2 separate regions of the Homo sapiens genome follow, and region 1 is linked to region 2. The links are contacts of gene promoters, found by promoter capture Hi-C in human tissues and cell types (Jung and others, 2019). All regions are on one chromosome and are shown on one strand. Each heading gives the region's core, a stretch centred on a gene start or on the middle of the fragment in contact. The rest is flanking DNA. Distances are from core to core; before and after follow the strand shown. Region 1 has its middle 43 kb from the start of KCTD7. Region 2 holds the start of SBDS (SBDS ribosome maturation factor).

Evidence for each region. Contacts are between HindIII fragments. The study calls those that stand out against the background at their distance.
Region 1: a fragment that was not itself captured here is called in contact with the fragment with the promoter of SBDS in region 2 in 1 of the 25 tissues and cell types used here (lymphoblastoid cells).

The regions. Positions count from the first base shown.
Region 1 is chr7:66,584,870-66,587,747 of GRCh38, forward strand. It overlaps the pseudogene RABGEF1P1. Among named protein-coding and RNA genes, the nearest start is that of KCTD7, 43 kb to the right of the region's middle. The HindIII fragment of the contact is 7,682 bases long and covers 1-2,878 here.
Region 2 is chr7:66,994,336-66,997,045 of GRCh38, forward strand. SBDS (SBDS ribosome maturation factor) reads right to left here and starts at 1,251. Exons shown (of 5, transcript NM_016038.4): 1 at 955-1,251; 2 at 1-6. The coding sequence starts at 1,082. It overlaps TYW1 (tRNA-yW synthesizing protein 1 homolog), which reads left to right and starts at 2,498. Exons shown (of 16, transcript NM_018264.4): 1 at 2,498-2,647. The coding sequence starts at 2,644. RefSeq lists an enhancer at 635-684 and a silencer at 2,249-2,368. The HindIII fragment of the contact is 8,933 bases long and covers 1-2,710 here.

The sequences.
Region 1 (2,878 bases), core at 150-2,649, 410 kb before region 2:
CACTCCAATAAATAGGAGCTTGATTGAACAACCTGGACATAAAGAATGCACAATTCAATTGGTCCCACCTATGTCAGGGAAGACAGAGTAAAAATGATCTCTGCTGCTGGGACAGTTAGGATTCTACAAATTATGCCCCAGGGCTGGGATTTATTCTGGGTCCATGTACTCTAAAAAGGACAGACAGGTACAAAGCATACTTACAAAGCTCACAGAACTATTAGTGTTCTTTCTTAAGGCTCTGGATGCAAACCAGTTTCATCTCAGAAAAGCAAAACGAAAACACTTTGCAGATGTGAGTATTTTCCCTCTATCCTTGAGCGGGCCCTGCTTCCTATTCCTGGGTTCAATGTCATGCCCTCACAGGTCACTCCTATCTCCAGGCAACTCATCTGGGACTTACAGGAAACACCCAATCAATTCTAGTAAAACGATAAGCTATCCATTGACCTCAGTTAAGGAATAAAACTTATGGGTGATTTTTTTCCCTTAAATTTTTTTTTCCAGTTAGAAAAGTAAAGAATACTCATTATTTACAAAACCTGATAATATATAGACAAGTAGAAAAAAAATGTGTTAATCATCATCCAGAGACAGTTACTATATGTAGTACATATTCCTATAGTGTTCCCTCTGCACTCATTCACCAAATATTTATACACTGATTGATTACTGTACGACAGCCACTTGGGACACAGGCACTTGGGACAGGCACTTGGGATACAAATGTAATTAAAAATAAATCGAACAGTTTGCTAGAAACAGAAACGGAATGCCAAAGGGTATGTGCATTTAAAATTTTGACATATACCAAACTGGTCTGACAAAATATACTATTTACATTCCCACCTACAGTGTATGAGAATCTGGTTTCCCATAACCTCATAAGCATAACATTATTGAACTTTAATTTGTCAATCTGACAGGCAAACAAAAAAAACCATTTAACGTGCATTTCCCTAAGGTTAGCCATCTTTGCAGATATTTATTGTCATTAATATATTTTCTTTGAAGAAATTAACTGATTTTGCTCATTTTTCTATGTCATTACTATTTTCTTTCGATTTATAGGTACTCTTCTCATATATCTTTCAGTCCTCAACTTCATGGTATGAAGACGCCATCATTCTAATAAAAGACTTATTAGCATCTGCAATCTGTAATCCAAGTTTCACCAACTTTCATATGATTAAGTATAATGCTTCCAAAATCAATGTGAATGTCAATGTCAGAGTTTTAATGTTAAATATAACAAAACATTATTTGTCCAAACATTAGCCTTGGAAAATAATTCCAAATGATAATCAACTCCCTAGAATACAATGTAGAGTTGATTGCTGCTGGAATGAGCAGAGCAAGCAGGGGAGCATTCTCAAGGAATGAGTTCTAGACAACAATCTTCTATTGCACTAGATCACACCCTCCTTGGTTAAGCAAAATTGTAACTCTAATCTGAGCATGCCCTTCTCCAGACTAACAGCTCAAAATTACATACAAGATAATCTGGCTACTGCAGCCTACTTTGTACCATTCTCTATGCCCTCGCCCAGGGAAGTAGCACATATGGTCAATTTATTCACTAAGTCACTAACCAAAAATTATTTATCTTAACTCCACCTAAAGTAACAGCAACCTGCAATACATGAGATGGTCTCTGTTAAAGGCATTTCTTTTCTTAAGTTTCTTTTCTTTTCTTTATTTGACATATTGTCTCGCTCTATAACCCAGGCTAGAGTGCAGTGGCATTATCACAGCTCACCATAACCATGACTGCCCGGACTCAAGTGATCCTCCCCACTTTAGCCTCCCAAGTAGCTGGGACTACACGTGTGCACCAACAACCCTGGATAATTTTTTTTTTTTTCCAGACTGAGTCTCACTCTGTCGCCCAGGCTGGAGAACAGTGGCGCGATCTTGGCTTACTCCAAGCTCTGCCTCTGGGTTGATGCCATTCTCCTGCCTCAGCCTCCAGAGCAGCCGGGACTACAGGCACCCGCCACCATTCCTGGCTAATCTTTTGTATTTTTATTAGAGACGGGGTTTCACCATGTTAACCAGGATGGTCTTGATCTCCTGACCTTGTGATCCACCTGCCTTGGCCTCCCAAAGTGCTGGGATTACAGGTGTGAGCCACCGCGCCTGGCCAACAGAGACAGGATCTAGCTATATTGCCCAGGCTGGTCTCAAACTCCTGGCCTCAAGCAATCCTCCCATCTTGGCCACACAAAGTGCTGGAATTACAGGAATGAGCCAATGCACTCAGCTCAGAATTTTTTTCTGAAAGGCATATCATAGTTTTAGCTTTGCTGCAGCCATTTCATCCATACTCACTTGCTGTGGCTGGGTAAAGTGATACACACATACACACACGCCCACACTAGTTTAGAGAAATACAAAACGCAATGCCTAGACCTGAAATGTATTTATTCAGATTTGTTAGATGGCGCAATCAAATAAATATCTGTGTTATGCTCTAAGCTTTTAAGAAATCTCTTGTATCTAAAATATAAGACACATATGTAAATGACATCCAACTGAGCTGGACTGACCAATGTACTGAAAAAGGGCTACCACATGCTGCTACAGGGCCTCACCCTGTTGGCCAGGCTGGTCTCCAACTCCTGGGCTCATGTGATCCGCCTGCTGTGGCTTTCCAAAGTGCTGGGATTACAGGTGTGAGCCACCATGCCTGGCTTAAATTCTAAACAGAAATAATAAAAGCCAGAAGATAATTTGACAGTGCTGAAACAATCTAAAGTATGATGGCTTTAAAAAAAAAAAAAAAGCTGAAAGAAAAAACCTGCCCACCTAGGATACAGTTCTAAGTGACCACTTCCTTTAAAAGCTGATGGCAAAGGCCTGGTACAGTGGCTCACAC
Region 2 (2,710 bases), core at 1-2,500:
TTTTCCCTTGTGAGGGCAGGAGAGAAAGTCCTATGTGAATATACTTGAAACTTGGACATGCATTTACATTTAAATACGAGATGGCAACAACATGAACGGCAAGACACAACAAATCCCCCTGATGACCTTTAGTGTAGAGGGCAGTTTTCTTTTTCTTACCCCCCAACCCCCGCCCCTAGATGGAATTTCACTGTTTTTGCCCAGGCTGGAGTGCAATGGCGCGATCTCGGGTCACTGTAACCTCAGCCTCCCGGGTTCAAGTGATTCTCCCGCCTCAGCCTCCTGAGTAACTGGGATTACAGGCATGCGCCACCACACCCGGCTAACTTTGTATTTTTAGTAGAGATGGGGTTTCATGTTGGCCAGGCTGGCCTCGAACTCCTGGCCTCAAGTGAACTGCCCGCATCGGCCTGAGGGAACATTTTCAAAACTCAGAACCGTATTTGCCTTACCATTTGCTCACTGGAGAAAAATGTCATGGGAGGACGTAAGAAACACAAGGGTGGGGTGGGGTGCAGACAGCTGCTGCCACGGAATGCCAGTCCCTAGATGGCAGCAGTGAAGACACTACGCACTTTAAACTGCTAGGGCTACTGAGATCTATGACACCAGATGTACCCACAACTATGACAGTATTCGTAAGACTAGGTTCTCAGCCATCATTATTCTAGGAAAAGGACCACAATTACGAGATTTCTTGGCTGCAGCTTTTATGACACCAACAAAACAAAACCCCAAACCAACAACCCAATCCGAACCAACCAAATAAAGAAGAAACCCTTGGCTTAGGCGCCAAGCTCGGACAGCGACGTCTCATGCTCACAGCAGGAATGTTCCATTTCCTCCCCGGCCAACACCCCAGCCTGGCCCATTCACTCGACTTGGGCAGAGACAGGCCGCCTCGGAGGTGACGGCTCAGGCCCAGGCCCAGGCCCGAGGGAGGGGGCTACTCACACGCCGCTCCGCCAGCCGACGACCTTGTTTTTGTAGCAGGCGATTTCGAAGCGCTTCCCGGCACGCTTCATCCGTACCACGGCCACATTGGTTAGGCGGATCTGGTTGGTGGGGGTGAAGATCGACATCGCGGCTGTTCAAAGACCCAGAAGCCGGCGAACCAGGGCTGACCCGCGCCGTCCAGCCTGAAGGCCACCAGCGCCTCGCGGTAACGACCGATCGGCGCGCGGCACTGACCCAACCACCAGTGCGCGGCGCCGCGACTCACTAGCTTCAGGCAGCCGTCACAGTGTGTCTGGCAGGCTTACTTACTGCGCAGGCGTCAGGTGGAGCAGAAGCCGGGAGGGGAAAAGTGAGCGATGACGCCTGCGTATTGTGGCTTTTTACGCCATCTTTCCACGCCCAAAAAGGGAGGTGCTTTTCCTTGGCGTATTTACTTTCGCCAATGAGCTGAGAGCTCTGACAGGATGCTCGCGGATGTTTAGTGACCGGGTTAAAACACAGCGTTGGCACCACCTCGTTCCGCGGAATTCAAGGGCCAGACCCACTTTATAATATAAATATTTTTTATAATAGAATTATTTTATAATAAATATTTTTATTTACTCACCCTTTTATAATAGAAATATTTTAACATAAAATGTAGACAAAAAAGTGTAATGAACCTTCTATGTACCCATCACCCCGCTATCAACATTTTGCCATCCTTGTTTTATTCTTTTTTCATTTTTTTGTTGCTTTTTTATTTACAGTTTTTTTTTTAAGTCAGTCTCACTCTGTCACCCAGGCTGGAGTGCAGTGGCAGGGTCATGGCCCCACTGCAGCTTCGACCTCCTGGGTTCGAGCGATCTTCCAGCGTTAGCTTCCCAAGTAGCTGGGACTACAGGTGTGAGCGGCCACGCCAAGCTAATTTAATTAAATAAATAATTAAAAAAAATTTTTTGTACAGACGAGGTCTCACTATGTTGCTCAGGCTGGTCTCGAACTCCTGGGCTCAAGCGATCCTCCCGCTTCGGCTTCCCAAGTGCTGGGATTACAGGTTTGAGTCACAGCGCCCGGCCGGTTGGGGGTATTTTAAAGAAACCATCATATGGTTTCAGCATTAAATACTTCAGCCTATAGCCCTTAACAGATACACGCGACGAGATTAACTACAATTCCTTAATATCATCTAATAGCGAGTCCATCCTCGGGTTTCCCAAAAATAATGCCTTTCTACAGTCGGTTTATTTCAGTTAAGATCCAAACAGGCCCACATAGCATTTCCCCCGCTCCCCGCTCCTTTCCTCTTTTAATTTTCCCATGCCAATCATTTCTCTCTGGGCCCGCCTTTTCCCAGTCTGAGCCAATCCAAATGGAGGCGGAAGCGCTCCGCCTTCATCGCCTGGAACTCTGGGAGGTGCTTATTTCTGGGCACGCCCCCTTTCCCCTCTGAGCCAATCGGAGCAGGGCCGAGAGCGCACCGGGCACTGGCTTCCTTTCCCGGAGCTCTGGGCTTTCCTCTGGGCCCACCTCTTCGTCCTCTGAACCAATCAGGACCGGCCTGGCAGTGTCATGGCTGCCCACAGGTCTGCAGGCACTCGGTACGCCGCTAACGCGGCGAGGTAGCTCGGTGCGTCTCGCGGTACCAGTGCGAATCATCGGGCTATCCAGGTCCGAGATCCTAGTCTCCTGTCGGCTCTGAGGAGGATGGGTAAGGGCACTCGGCGGGCAAGGACCCTGGGGCGGCAGGGGAGGTAAACGTTTTACTGAGACC